2 separate regions of the Homo sapiens genome follow, and region 1 is linked to region 2. Evidence: promoter capture Hi-C in 16 types of primary human blood cells and fetal thymus (Javierre and others, 2016). All regions are on one chromosome and are shown on one strand. The core of a region is centred on a gene start or on the middle of the fragment in contact, and the rest is flanking DNA. Distances in the headings are between cores, read along the strand shown.

Evidence for each region. Contacts are between HindIII fragments. The CHiCAGO score rates a contact against its expected background, and 5 or more counts as called.
Region 1: a fragment that was not itself captured here is called in contact with the fragment with the promoter of INPP5J in region 2 in 1 of 17 cell types (neutrophils); the score reaches 5.8 in neutrophils.

Annotation. Positions count from the first base shown.
Region 1 is chr22:31,324,934-31,332,625 of GRCh38, reverse strand. PATZ1 (POZ/BTB and AT hook containing zinc finger 1) reads left to right here. Exons shown (of 5, transcript NM_014323.3): 4 at 3,702-3,839; 5 at 5,317-6,822. The coding sequence ends at 5,735. Among named protein-coding and RNA genes, the nearest start is that of PIK3IP1-DT, 6.6 kb to the left of the region's middle. RefSeq lists an enhancer at 2,963-3,647. The HindIII fragment of the contact is 5,762 bases long and covers 2,706-7,692 here.
Region 2 is chr22:31,121,494-31,128,463 of GRCh38, reverse strand. INPP5J (inositol polyphosphate-5-phosphatase J) reads right to left here and starts at 5,498. Exons shown (of 13, transcript NM_001284285.2): 1 at 5,345-5,498; 2 at 2,454-3,619; 3 at 1,975-2,088; 4 at 1,743-1,851; 5 at 1,427-1,543; 6 at 932-1,107; 7 at 402-513; 8 at 141-250. The coding sequence starts at 5,449. The HindIII fragment of the contact is 6,854 bases long and covers 2,146-6,970 here.

The DNA of each region.
Region 1 (7,692 bases), core at 4,337-6,836, 200 kb before region 2:
AAGCAGTCCCCAACCCCTGCATTGATGTGGAACCTGCCAAAGGATGATTTGCTTCTGGAGTGCCAAGTGCAGGCACACCAGGCAAGAAAATGCAACTGAGGAGCAGTGGCCTTTTGCTAATAAGACCATCGTCTCTGGAGTGAAAGGGCCGGTGGCTTGTTGGTTGTAGTGGCAGTCATATGTGTGCTCAGCATCTCCATTGCGTGGATGGCTGGATCAAGCTGCCTCTTTGGATCTTGGTTAATCAGTGGTGAATGGGTGGGTAAGTTTAGAATTCCGGCTAAATATGTCTGGCTTCAAAGACGTATTCTGCTCAGAAGCTCAGCTTCTGTTTCATCCTAACACTTGGCTGCTGAGTTGCTCTGTGTTTAAATTCTAGGCTTTAAGTGGCAGCTGTGGATCCACTCCTACCACCCCGCCATGTGGTTTTGCTATAGATAGTACAGTCTGCAGCTGGGGTAAAGTCAAGAGGACTCAGCCACGTGTTTCTAAGACTGTTTTTCAGGAAAACTCAGCAAGACAGTTTCGCTGTTGTTGCCCAGACTGGAGTGCAATGGCGCGATCTCAGCTCATCACAACCTCCACCTCCTTGGTTCAAGCGATTCTCCTTCCTCAGCCTCCCTAGTTAGCTGGGATTACAGGCATGCACCACCACGCCCGGCTAATTTTGTATTTTTAGTAGAGACAGGGTTTCTCCATGTTGGTCAGGCTGGTCCGGAACTCCCAACCTCAGGTGATCTGCCTGCCTCGGCCTCCCAAAGTGCATGAGCCACTGCGCCCAGCCAAACTCAGCAAGTTTTTATTGAGCATCTGCTGTGTTCTCTTGGTATAGCTCTCCCAGTAAGGAGTAAACATAATAATTCCTGGTGCTCTCCCGCTCCTTTCTGTCCCCTTTTGATTGCAGTGGACCTGCTCTGGTTCATCACAGGGAGAGAGCTTCATGCTATTTTAGAGACCCCACAAGGGATTAAAAAACTAAGGAAAGGCCGGGCACGGTGGCTCACGCCTGTAATCCCAGCACTTTGGGAGGCCGAGGCGGGTGGATCGCGAAGTCAGGAGATCCGAGACCATCCTGGCTAACATGGTGAAACCCCGTCTCTACTAAAAATACAAAAAAAATTAGCCAGGTATGGTGGCGGGCGCCTGTAGTCCCAGCTACCAGGGAGGCTGAGGCAGGAGAATGGCATGAACCCTGGAGGCGGAGCTTGCAGTGAGCCGAGATGGTGCCACTGCACTCCAGCCTGAGCGAGAGTGAGACTCTGTCTCAAAAAAAAAAAAAAAGGAAAAAATTACCTTCTAAAGTGGTATCATCATATTATCAGAAAGTTCTAATATCTTGTACTGATTGGTGGGAGCCAATGTCTCCTGGTTCTGCTTTGTTTTAGGGGACTCTACAGTACCACCCCAAGGGGCAGGGCTAACAGCCTCTTTCCCATTAGCCTTGTCTCCTCACTCCTGACTACAGCCTCCCTCTTAGGGATGTCTACATGGGACCCTCTTACACCAATCTATACCCATGATCAGCCTCAGGCAGACCACTGCGGTCATAGCACAGGACAACTTGCTCTACCAGGCAGGGCAGGACACCAGCACCTGGTCTAGACAGATCTTTGAAGTAGCTGTATTGGGAAAGGAAGGAAAATTGGCCCAATCCCACATTTCCCTTCAGAACCACTAACTGCTGCTGTCAGAGGAGAACTTGTTAAATAAAGTTCCCACAGGCCAGCCCTGTTTTTCCAGCAGCTTCCATTCTAACATACCATTATGGTCGAAAAATACATGAGTGTAAATGGTAATAATGAAACCTATTGTAAAAGTCCACTGGATATTTCTAGGGCTCAGGGCTAAGACACAGGAACCAATTAACCCATTTATGCTGGAGGTTACAAACTTTTTTGTGAAAAATCAGACTTTAATGATGATCTTGAGCAGTAGGATACAAATAATTCCTAAAAGGTTAGCGTCCCAATAATGGAACATGAGGCATAAGTGGGTTAAAGCATCTGCCCAGTAGCTAAGGGCCAAGTTCTGGTGGCACATGATCCTGGGGTTGGAGTCCAGGCTCTGCCACTCAGTAGCTGTACGTGTGACCAGGTTACTTAACCTCACCAAGCCTCTTTTTTTTTTGAGACGGAGTCTCGCTCTGTTGCCCAGGCTGGAGCGCAGTGGCATGATCTCAGCTTACAGGTGCCTGCTACCACGCCCAGCTAATTTTTTATATTTTTAGTAGAGACGGGGTTTCACTGTGTTAGCCAGGATGGTCTCGATCTCCTGACCTCGTGATCTGCCCACCTCAGCCTCCCTAACCTCACAAAGCCTCTTATTTCTTTATCTGTAAAATGGGTATAATAGTAATCTGTAGCACAAAGGGTGTTGGGCAAATTCTATAGAATAGTGCATGCGGTGTGCTGGGCCCTGGTGTGCCATCAGCACTTCCTAAAGGTGAACCTTTATTACAGTTCCAGCAGCATTCAAAATACCATGCCAATTCAGACTTTTTTAAAACAAATCTCATGCAGACATTACACAGTACTCTTCAGCCTCTGACCCTTTACCCTTTAGCAGTGGATCTCACTGTTATCCTGTGACTGTGTAATTTTGAAAGTGAATGGAAACACCTGATGATGAGTCAACCAGATCTGAAGTGGATTAAAGGGACACTGTCAGGGTGCTGGCACCCTAAGTGGGCCTTATACTAAAAAGCTTCAGTTCCTGCTAAAAGCACCTTCTGATCCTTGACTACAGTGGGGTTTGATGGCATACCTCCTTCCTGTGAAACCCAAGTCAAAATCCTTTTATCGGCCTGCCTGATTCTGTATCCTTGGACGCATGGCTGCTGTGGAAGTTGGCCCAAGATGTGTTCTTCCCAGCCTGAGATATCTCGTGGATCAGACTGACCGAAGCATCTGGGAGGTGGGCTGGAACAGTCCCAAGAAGGCCGGATTGTCCTCCCCCAAAATAAAGACAGAGATCATCCGTGTTTCTTCTCCTGTACGCGAACCTGGTGGATGCTCCAAAATCGAACCAAAACACTACCATGAATAAGAGATGACTGCACTCCTCTGACACAACTTCCTATTTTTGTCTTTGTTCTTCAAAAGGTCTAAACAGTTACTAAATCCTGTTATGCTGAAGGTGGGGAAGTTAGAAAAATAGAACATCTCCTGACAGGTAGAAGACGGGATCCTTGGAGGCGTTCCTTTGGGATTTCATTTTACCTCCATCTCGTTTGTTGTCCAGTTTCCTTTTACGAGGATTAAGCAGGCATCCTGCTGGCTAGAATCCTGTGGCTTCCCTGGAGCCTCAAATTCTTGTCTAACCACATTTCTAGTCATGGTTCCTGCAGGAGACATCCACTCAAACCACCTGTTACTGAGGCACCAAGCAACCCTAGAGGCAGTTGGCCTCTGGCCCTAGCAGGAGCAGGATCTCAGGCCATCCCACCAGGCAGCCAGCCTCAGCCCCTCACCGCAGCCTTGCAGAGTGGGCTCTGCAGAGAAGCCGATTTGTGGACAGTGCCACCCTCCATCCTGAGTCACATGGCTCATGTGGTTGCAGCCATTTTTGAGCCAGGAGGGGGCCCCTTCTAGGTGCAGCTGACCTGGGAATGCTAGCCAGAGCGGCCAGAGGAGAGGAGTTGGGGGAAGGAGAGAGGTATCTCTTGCTGGCCGCGGGATCTCATCTCCTTTTGTCTTGTTTAGGTTTCTCCTCTGCCTCCTACTTAAAGGTCCATGTTAAAACCCACCACGGTGTTCCCCTTCCCCAGGTCTCCAGGCACCAGGAGCCCATCCTGAATGGGGGAGCAGCGTTCCACTGCGCCAGGACCTATGGCAACAAAGGCAAGCGACCCCTTGCTCTGCACTTTGCTTCTCTGCGCAGACTGTGTTGTGGGGGCGCTGGGCTGGGCGTGGGGAGGCGGGAAGGCTGCCGGCTTTCTGGCTGCCTTGAGGAGACTCAGAGATCTGAGTGGCAGTGGCCTCCAGGACAAAAGTCACAGTGGGTATCTCACTCCAGGGCAGTGAGTGAGGCTTTAGGGCACTGCCGAGATCCAGCCTCCGCCTCCTCTTCCCCAGCCCTCCTCCTTTCCTCCTGGCCAGCCCCCACTGTCTGGAGCCCTGCAGGGATGCCCCGGGCCCTGGGCAGAAGAAGAGCCCTGCATGATGAGTCACTATGGGCCTGTCACTGCCTGCTGCCCTTTAGGATGGTGTGGAGCTGCGGCTGAATGCTTTCTCCTCTTTTGACCCAGTGGGCCGGTGGGAGCCAATGTCTGGCTTCTCTCACAGTAGGAGTGGTTGGTTACTGTGAGTGGCCCTTTCTGGAGAGCCTCTGGCTATGGTTGTGAGATGCATGGCAATAATGAGCTATCTGACTCCTCTGACTTGGGAGTTGGTTTGCAGAAAGCTCCCCAGGCCCACCTTCACTTGTTGATTCAGGTTGTTTTGTGGTATGTCACGTTGTCGTTGCCTTGGGGATGAGGCCAGGGGCTTGGCAGATGGTAGAAACAGCAGAGATGGCATGCTCCATGCTCCCATCACAGACCTCCCTTCCCGGCATGGCTCTCTGGACCCAGGCAGGAAGCTGCTGATTGGTGGAGGACTCCAGTGTGGGCCGGGCAAGGCAGAGCAGCCAGGGTTGTCTCTTGGCCCAGCTTGTCTGGGGCCTAGGGTGGGGACACCCAGCCGACTGAGTAGTACAGAGTTGCTTTCAATCTCTGTGCTTGGGCTGCTTGGCCCTGAAAAGGTTTTGGCAGAAGGAAGGCGGTAAGGACAGGGCTATGTTTGCAGCATTAGGAAAAGGATTGGCTTCTGTCTGAGCCATTGATGGGGTCTACCCAGGTTGAGGACCTAATGGCTCTGGTTCTGCCTGTCTTGCTAGGGTGCAGCTAGTCTGGTGCAGGAGGCGAGGCTACTATTACACTGGCTCGGCATCATCAGAATACCAATTTTACCCTCAGAGGCACCCAAAAGAGCGCCTAGGAGTTGGGGGTCTTTGAGTTGTTCTGGGCAGCTGTAGCAGAGTTGCCCTCTCTGTATCCCTTCCTTGAAGCAGGCTGAGATGACGGTGAGCAGTACATGTGCAGCTGCATGAAGAGTCCACAGCAAGGGAGGCTGGCAGCCCTAGGGCCCTGCCGTTTCACCCCTGTAGGCACTCCAGGCTCCCAGACTGACCAGCTGACCCTCCGTGGGTTCTGCCAGGGCAGTGGCTGGCCAATGGCTGCCCTCCACAGGTCTGTGAGCTGGCCCCTCATGACCCCTCCAGGAGGGGGCATCTCCAGAGCCTGGCCTCATCGCTCTCCTATATTTTGTTTTTTCGTAGAAGGCCAGAAATGCTCACATCAGGATCCGATTGAGAGCTCTGACTCCTATGGTGACCTCTCAGATGCCAGCGACCTGAAGACGCCAGAGAAGCAGAGTGCCAATGGCTCTTTCTCCTGCGACATGGCAGTCCCCAAAAACAAAATGGAGTCTGATGGGGAGAAGAAGTACCCATGCCCTGAATGTGGGAGCTTCTTCCGCTCTAAGTCCTACTTGAACAAACACATCCAGAAGGTGCATGTCCGGGCTCTCGGGGGCCCCCTGGGGGACCTGGGCCCTGCCCTTGGCTCACCTTTCTCTCCTCAGCAGAACATGTCTCTCCTCGAGTCCTTTGGGTTTCAGATTGTTCAGTCGGCATTTGCGTCATCTTTAGTAGATCCTGAGGTTGACCAGCAGCCCATGGGGCCTGAAGGGAAATGAGGCAGCTGCTGTGTCCCCACGGAAACAACCATCTGGGGACTGCTGGGAAATGCTGTGAATGCGGAGGGAAGTGATGTTTGGGTTCTGTAGCTGAGAGATTTTTATTCATTTTTAACTGCCCCCCAACCCCACTCCAACTCCTTCTCCACCACCCATTCTCCCAATGGTCTTTAGAAATAGATTTTCATCTGATATTCTGCAGAAATATCAATGAGACTTGGTATGGGACAGGGGCAGAAAACACTACATAGGCCTCCAAGGCAAAACCAGTCCCAGTTTCTTTAATGGGAAGAAGCTGGAATTCCTGGTGCTCAATTCTTAGTGACCCCAATCCTATACCCAAATCTATGATATTCTGGGACCTCAGTGATTTTGGTCCCCTCCCACTTCTCTAGTTCGTCATCCTCCCTTCCCATATCCTTCAAAAGAACCACACTAGGGTCTCCACCTACTTATACAATGCGGATGCCCAACTGTTTTTAAGGAAGCCAGAAGCATCCCATGGACCATGGGGTGAGTGTCCTCCAAGAGCCCCCTGAGCTCAGCCCTCTGCCTGGAGGGCTCCAGACCTTTCTGAGCCCTGCTTGGAGGCGAGCATTTTCACTGCTAGGACAAGCTCAGCTGTTGAGGACACCCCCACCCCAAATTTCAGTTCTTACGTGATTTTAACCATTCAACATGCTGTTGGGTTTTAATTCTCTAATTATTATTATTATTGTTATTATTTTTTAGGACCAGTTGTAGTGAATTGCTACTGAAAGCTATCCCAGGTGATACAGAGCTCTTTGTAAACCGCAGTCACACATTAGGGTTAGTATTAAACTTTGTTTAGATGTACCATAATTAACTTGGCTAGTTGATTGTTTGAAGTCTATGGAAGAAATAGTTTTATGCAAAATTTTAAAAAATGCCAGTCTGGTCAGGGAAGTAGGGGGTTTCAATGCTGTTGGGAACCAGGAAGGTGGGACAGCCGGCAGGTAGGGACATTGTGTACCTCAGTTGTGTCACATGTGAGCAAGCCCAGGTTGACCTTGTGATGTGAATTGATCTGATCAGACTGTATTAAAAATGTTAGTACATTACTCTATCTGCTCCCTTGAGTCCAGTTTTTCAGCTGTGGGGGTCTTTGGGACCCAGAGGTGGGCAGTCCATACCCCAGCACCTGGGGTGGGAGTGGGATCCCAGGAGACCCCTTTTCCACTTCATTGCACCAGTTCCACTGGGATTGACAGGTAGATGGTCCCACTGAAGACTTAGAATGCCAGAATTCACCCATGTGTTCAACAAATATCCACTGCTTGTCTTCACTGCTTGTGTGCCAGGCATGGTTTCATGCTCTTGAGATATGGTGGTGAACAAGACACCACTGTGAGGCTTAATGGGATAGACAGACAACTTAAATATGAGTTCAGATAATGAGAAATACAAGGAGAAGAACTGGGCAAGGTGAGGGGACAGTGACAGCAGGAGGGTGAGTAGGGTGGACCAGGGAGGTGTGAAGTGGGGTTGGGGCTCTGGGAGGGAAGGCTTATAGAGGGGATCTGACACAGCCTACCCAGCTAGCACCTGAGGAGGGATGTGGGCAGGGACTCCTCATGGCCAAGGGGCTCTAAGAAGCTCAGCAACTTGTCTCCCCCACCATGTTATCTACCTGATGTTAAGTAAAAGGTTGGTGCACCGTTAATGGTGAATGTATGAAGAAAAGAGGGAAAGAACAACAAACAGGAGGCAAGAAGTAAGCACGATGGAGAATTAATAGGAATAAGAATGAGGAACAAGAAGGGACAGGCAGACTTAAGGCACCCTGGGCATCTTGAGAAATCTCAGGGAAGAGGGAAACCCCTAAAAGGATAGAGACAGCATTTAACCTCCAAGCAAGAAGAAAACAAAACAATGGTAAAGGAGAGAAAAACAGACCTAGGGGAACAAACAGCACAAAAATTTTTAGACCCACATT
Region 2 (6,970 bases), core at 4,249-6,748:
GAGCAGGGGTACCCCAAGTTTCAGGGGCTGGGGATCAAGATGTAACCCTCCACCTTGCCTCCTGCCCCTCTTCCCAAAGTCTCCCTGTTCGAGAAGACCTCAGCCCACTTCCCCTCAGTCCCTCCTCGGACTGAGCTCACCTGGTATCGTATTTGTTGGTACCCACATCAAACTTGAAGGTGGGAGCGAAGTTGAGGGGCCCCTCCTGAAAGCCCTTCAGAATGGGCCAGGTGTTCTTGGCCATGTTGAGCTGTGGGGGGTCCAGGAGAGCAGATTGGACAACAGCTTGGGCTCTGCTGTGCCCAGGGAGGGGGTGGGGCAGGTGAGGACAGGGACCATAGTCTAAGGTACAGGCGTGTCCTGGGACATGCTCTGTGTGCTTCTGGGGACAAGGACCCCACCTGGTCCTTCTCCCAGAGCTGATGGAGCTGGTCACTGTCGATGGCAAACTTGACAAAGTGCAGGTCATAGCTCTCAATGCGGAAGTTCAGGTCCCCGAACCAGAACACGAGGCTGTTTGGGGTGGGGGATGGGAGAGATGTGGGGGGCAGTGGGGGGTGTCAACAGGTCCATGGAGGATAAGGGCTCAGCCCAGATCCTTCCAGCCCATCCAACCCGAGGGGATGTAGTGAGTGGGTGAGTGGTGCCAGAGCCTCCAGCCCACCAAAGGGCAGAGGAAAAGCAGAGGGACCGGTCTACAGGAAATTAGGTTCTGACCTTCAGCAAGGCGGGGCCCCTCAGCAAAGCTCCACCCTACAAGCTCCGCCCCTCCCCATCCAACTGCTCTCTGCTTTCGTGTTCCTACAACTAGTTTGGGTGGGCACTAAACCCCATAGGCCCTGCCTCTCTCCATAAGCCCCACCCAAGGTGGTACAAAAACCCCCATCACTAGCCCCACCCAAGCTCTATTTGGCCCCACCCCAGCCCATACTCATGATCCAGGATGCCCTGTGCGCCCGGCCCTTGGAACTGCTGGAGGCTGAGGATGGTCTGGAAGTTGTCTTTGCGCTGCTCCGCCTTGTCCATATGCGCAGGCAAGTGGCAGTTCAGGAAGCAGAGCATGTGCCCGAAGGCCGCCAGGCGCACGCTCACGCCACCCTTGTTACCCTAGGGAGGCAGGGTCGGATGGCTCATGGGCGGGGCTTAGGCCAGGAGGTGAGGCACTGGGAGCGGGGGTTAGAGAGGAGATGTGGGTGGAAGGTGGGTGGGTCCTACAGAAATGAGGAACAACGCTGGGACACAGTGGGGAGAGAAAAGGGCGGGGGTATAGAGGAATAGGATGGGGTATTGGGTGGTGCATGGGGGGGCTGGGCCGCAGGGTAAAGGGTGGAGGATGGGAAGGGGACCTTGCTGTGCATGGGGCGGGGGGACTAATCTAAAGCCCCCTTCATGTCCCATCCTCTTCTGGGCCTGCTCACAGGCTCACCCAGTAGCCGCCCAGGCCAGTGCGCGTGCAGTCGGTCTGCACGTCTCGCAGGAAGGGCAGGTGGTAGTACTTGGCGAACAGCAGCAGGATGACACCCTGCATCCTCACCGAACTCACCTGCAGCGGGAGGCCACGTGGCTGGGGGACAGAACACAACTCCCCCGCCCTCGCGCCCACCTTCAGGTCTGCTCCTCCACCCACCCATGTCACGGACCCAGCCACAGAGGCCCAGCGGGCCCCACAGTGAGCCAGGGTACAGCTGGAGCCAGGAATTCAGCAGGGTCTCTGGCTGTCCAGGGGGTGAGGGGTGCGTTACCAGCACGAAGTTGAAGGGCCCTAGCGCATCCATGAACAGCTCACTCCACTGGTCCGTGAAGAGGGCGTCCTTGAGTCGCTTGTTGAGCATGGAGTTCACTTCCTGCAACCTGGAGGGGTGGGGGCAGGGTGGCCATGGGATTGGAGAGGTGCCCTGGAAGCCCCTGCCATGGGTGGAGGGCCCGGAAGGCCCGAGGGGCTCAGGAGGGGGTCCACATGCCCTGCCACCTCACCCTATGGCGATCATGTCTGCGCCGTCGCTGTCGTCACCACCGCCCAGGTGGAGGAGGGATGTGACATCGTCTGGGGGCATGGCAGTGCCCACGTTCCATGTGACCACAGTGATCCTGAGGGCAGGGGCATATGAGGGTGTAGTCCTGGCACCACTCCCTCACCCTCAAGCTTCCTTTCACAGGACTCCCTGGGGAACTAAATGGAGGCAGGTGTGGGCCAAAGCCCTAAGAAGGACCCACAGGAGGCCCCGAATCCTGTCCCTCTGCCACACTCTCCCTGGGGAGATCAACTGAGAGGCGGCAAGTTCCTTAGGAGGGGATGCTATCTTCTGAGCGTCACAGAGTGGGCCCAGCAACCCCCTCCCCAAAGACTCTTCCTCAGAGAGAGAAGCTGAGGTAGAGCACACCATCCACCCTGGAAGAATGGCTAACCTCAGAGCTAAGCCCCAGCCACCTTTCTTGGGAGAGGGCCCCCTCACCGGAAGCCGGGGTCGCTCTTCCAGGTAGGCTGAGCTGACCAAGGGGAGGATGACAGGGTGGATGTAGAAGAGGAGGTGGTGACTGGGGCTGGGGCTTCTTGGGCCTGAAGGTTGGGGCTCAGGCACCTGCCAGGCCCTGTACTCTGTGTGCCAAGCCTTGGGAGGGCCATGTCAGGGGCTGGGGGAACACAGGGAGAGCGATTCGGGGAGTGGCTTGGGGAACGGCTGGGTGATCGGGGTGGCTTGGGCAGAGGTGGGGGCACAGTCTGGCCTGAGGGGGCCCCAGGCCGGAAGGTGGGGGACAGAAGTCCAGGGGAGTGAGTGCCAGGCTCTGAAGGACCCTGGCCCACATCCAAGGGCAAGGTCTGGGGTGGCCGTGGCAAAACAGGATCCTCAGGGCTGCTGTGGAGGGCCTCAGGCCGGGCTCGGAAGGAGGGGGAGAGCCGAGGGTCTGGGGAGGTTTGGATGCAGGGTGGGGAGCCTGTAGGACCAGATGTCTGAGCTGGAGGCTGGAGATGCCCCTCAGAAGCAGGGAGAGGTCTAGGGGCTGGGGCATCCCTCTTTCTAGCTGATGTCTGTCCCACAGAGGCTGCGCCTGATGCCGTGGATGCTGGAGCCAGGGCCTGTTCCTGAGTTGGAGACAGAACTGGACTGGGCACCGGGGAAGGGGTGGAGGGGAGTTCTGGGGGCTGCTCCTCAGAAGCCAGGGCCAGGCTCAGGCCAGAGGCTGCCAGTGTTGGCTTGGGTCCCACGGAGGCAGGTGGCTCCTGCTTCTGGTCTCTGGAGGTTGGGGCCAGATTGGGCCCCAGGGTGACTGGGGGAGATCTTGGCCCTGCTGAGGCAGGCATCACCAGCCCCAGGGACGTCGGAGCCAGAACTGAGCCTGTGGTCGCTGGGGGAGGCTTTGGTCCAGCTGAGGCAGACATCACCAGCTGGCCCACAGATGTTGGGGCCAGGCTGGAGCTGCGGTGGGCAGTAGCTGTTTTCTGCCCTTCAGGGGTACACAGTGGAGCCAGGATTGGTCGGGGAGATGCCAGAGCCAGCCTCGGTCCTTCCGAGGAAGCTGACATAGCTGCCCGTGGCCCTACAGGTGCCAGAGCCAACCTTGGTTCCGAGGGTCCTAGGGCTGCGTTCTTCTTTGCTGGGAGCTGAAAACTTGAGTCCACCTTGTGGAGGACAAGTCAAAGATTCAGAGTGACCCTAACCAGGGCATTGGGCCCCAACTTCCATATAGACCCTGGCAGAGTTCATCTAGCTAAGAAAGGCACATCTTTCCAAGGAAGTTCTTCCTACTATCTCACTTCAATCTATTCTGCTGCAGGTCAACTTCTGTCTTGGAGGAGATAGGACACAAAACCCTAACCCCTCCTTTAAGTCTGAAACCTCTTTCACAGATGGGGAAACTCAGACCCTGACTCAAATGAGGCAGAGTGTGAACCTAAACCTGAGGACTTGCCTTGCCTTCCTGGCTGGCACCCACACCCTGCCCATTCGGGGCAGCTTCCCTGGGCAACCCTCCCACTGCAGTCCCTGAAGCTCCCCCAGCCACGGCTACTGACCTGACATCCCAGGTCTGGGCACACTGGGGACAGCCTGTTTCTTTTCTTTTTCTATTGTCAAGATACAGACCTACAGGTGCAGCTTGTTAAATACCTCTCCCTTCCTTCATAATGCCCAGAAACCCTCAGTTCCCCACCGCCCCCTAAACATCCAAATCCCTTGGTTACAGCCCTCTCTGTTCTCTTACCCATTCCCAGAGCTCCACTCAGGAGCAAGAGCTGGGAGCTGAGACTGGCTGTGTAGATTCAAAGCCCAGCTCTGTGTGACCTTAGGCAAGTACCTCTCTGCCCAGCGCCTCAGTTTCTCTGTCTGTAAAATGAAGGGATGGGGTCTAGGGTTCCTGGCCACATTATATTCTGGGGAATCTTCATCTCCCATTGTCTGCATTTATGAGCCCAACATTTGCTAGAATTCCATCTAGCCCCGTTGAATAGTCCATCCTCACCAAGTGTGAATCTAGCATTCAGAGCAAGTCCAGGATTCTAAGTTGATCCTGGTGTCACATCTCTCTGTGCCCAGGTTGTGCCCTCTTACATCCTCCACTTTCTCCCCTACCTGAAAGGACAGGCAAGCAGGTATCCCATTTATGTCCGGCAGGTGGGAGGGGTGGGGAGTCACGGAGTCCTGTAGAGACCTATCCTCCTTCCCCATCTATTCTCTCTGATGTCCCCTGTCTCCAGAAGACAGGATAAAGTGTCCTTCACCAAGGAGGGCAGAAGAATGTCTATACTTGCCCCAGGATGGCCCTAGGTAGGGTAACAGGGCGCAGGGAGGCCCTGCCTCTGGAGACGCACTTCTGTTTCTGTCCCGTATCCTTCTCAGTTCAGAGTACCTAAAACTCCATCTCCACCTCCCTTCTCAAACTCAGTTCTTTGAGGTGGCATTTTAGGCACCCTCCTTGGCTCCAAGTGTCACACTGTGTGCCGGCTTCCCCCCAACTATCACACCGCCTCCAGTACTAACAACTTAGCCATCCCAGATGTCACAGTTTTAGTCTTCAGCGACAAGCCCCCTCATTTTGCATTGGCTCAGAGAGGAAAAGCAACTTGGCCAAGGTCACACAGCAAAGGTGGAGCACAGCTGGGTCCTCTGATACCCAGTCCAGGACTCTCCCAAGGGCTCCTGGAGATGGCTAACTTCATCTGTCTCCGGGCATCCTGTCACTGCCCCTCAGCCCCCAGGGTGCTCTCTTCACCTAGCCCCTGCTCGCTGAGCAGAGGAAAGTACCAGCCCCTCAGTCAGGAGCACCAGGGAGCCTGCAGTGTATGTGGGGGGGGTGTGTGGAACCAGGGATCAGGAAAGCGGGGGGCACTGGGTCTCAGGGGTCTTACCTTGGAGGGTGCCCCAGTTTGGGCAACACCCTGGGGCATGGGCAGGGAACCCAGGCCAGCCCGGGTCCCTGGCCTCCTGCTGCCCCTGCTGCTCTGGCCCTCCATGTCTGCAGCCCCCGGCAGCCTGGACTCCCTTGGCTCCGGCTCCAGCTCTACCGCTCCCGGGAACCAGTGATGTCATCAGCCATTTCAACCTGCTGAGAATTTAAAGGCACAGGCTCCCACTTCCCAGCCTGGAAGAGGCCGAAGCAAGGTGGCTACCCCCTGGGAATCCTTCAAACTGGCTGCTGAGGCTGGAACAGCCATGGAGTGGGGAGGGGAGAGTGTACCCATCTGCCTGGCCCAGGTCCCAACTGGCAGCAGGAAGGAGGCTGTCTGTCTACCTTCACCTTTCTGCCGTAGGCCTGGTCAGCCCTTTGCTCCAGGGAGGGGCATTAACACACCTGCCTTAAGGTAGGACAGGTGGTTCAGAGGTCTGCACCCTCTCCAGGGCCTCAGAGACAACTGAGTTCTTGCCCTGATCCTGTGACCTTCCTGGCTCCCTGCCAGCTCAGAGCTTGCCCCGGCCCCCACCCTTGCCCCATTTTCAGGTCTTGGTGCCACCCTCTCCACTCCTACTGCCAGTCCCAGGCTCTATTCTTCCCAACCCAGAACCAGACACTCAGGCTCCAGCCACTGCAGTCTTTTCCCATCTCAGGCCTCAGCACCAGCCCCTCCTCTTCTGCAGACACCTAGCTGCCCTCAGATGTCCCCACAGCCAGGCCTAACCCAGCCCGGCTTCTGTCAGCTTTCTTCTCTCCAGTATTCACTGGGTGTGGTTTGGGAGGGGAACTTGCTCAAGGTCACCTGGTGAACTGAGAAGGTCTCCTGTGTTTCAGTGAGAAAACTTAGTGACCTAGGATGAGCACAAGCCCTTCGAGCTATCTGGGGGAAGGGAACTTGGGTGGAGAAGGGCCCAGCAGTGGGGTAACAGACTGACAAGAGAGTTACAAACAGGCCTGAGAATTGCTACAGCCAGGACCCAGCCCAGGACATGGTCCCCAACAGGCCTACGGGAGTGTTTGTTGAATGAATAAATGAATTAGAAGAGTGAATGGGTGATGAGGGTCAGATTGGGCTGGGATGGCTGTGGGATCTGTTTCTCATGGCTTAGAGAGGAGTGATCCCACCCACTTTAGGCAGAAAGTGTTCAGAGTTGTGTGTGCAGAGCTCCCTGTTAACCAACATGGAGCATCTGCATGGGCCTGTGCAGTCTCCTACATGAAGGCAGATGCCTCACTTTCCTCTCCTGAAGGCACTTCCTACCTCTGCTTGACTGTCAGTAGGTCTAGTCTGTATTCTCAGGCCAGCATCTCTGCTGGAATTTGCAGGGGCAGAGACTCAGGCCATATTAGAGTGTTGGGGTAGAAAGGTCTTTGGACAGCGATAGTGGAGATGGTGACAGTGGTGACGGGGAAGGCGACTGTGGTGATGGATGTGATGATGTATGTAACTGTGATGATGGAAGTAGGGGGCTAGCAGTGGTTGTGGTGAAGGTGGTGGAGGTGATGGTGATGGCAAAGGTAGAGGTGATGATGATACCAATACTGATGATGGTGTTGTGTCAATGAAAGAGGTAGTGTTGGA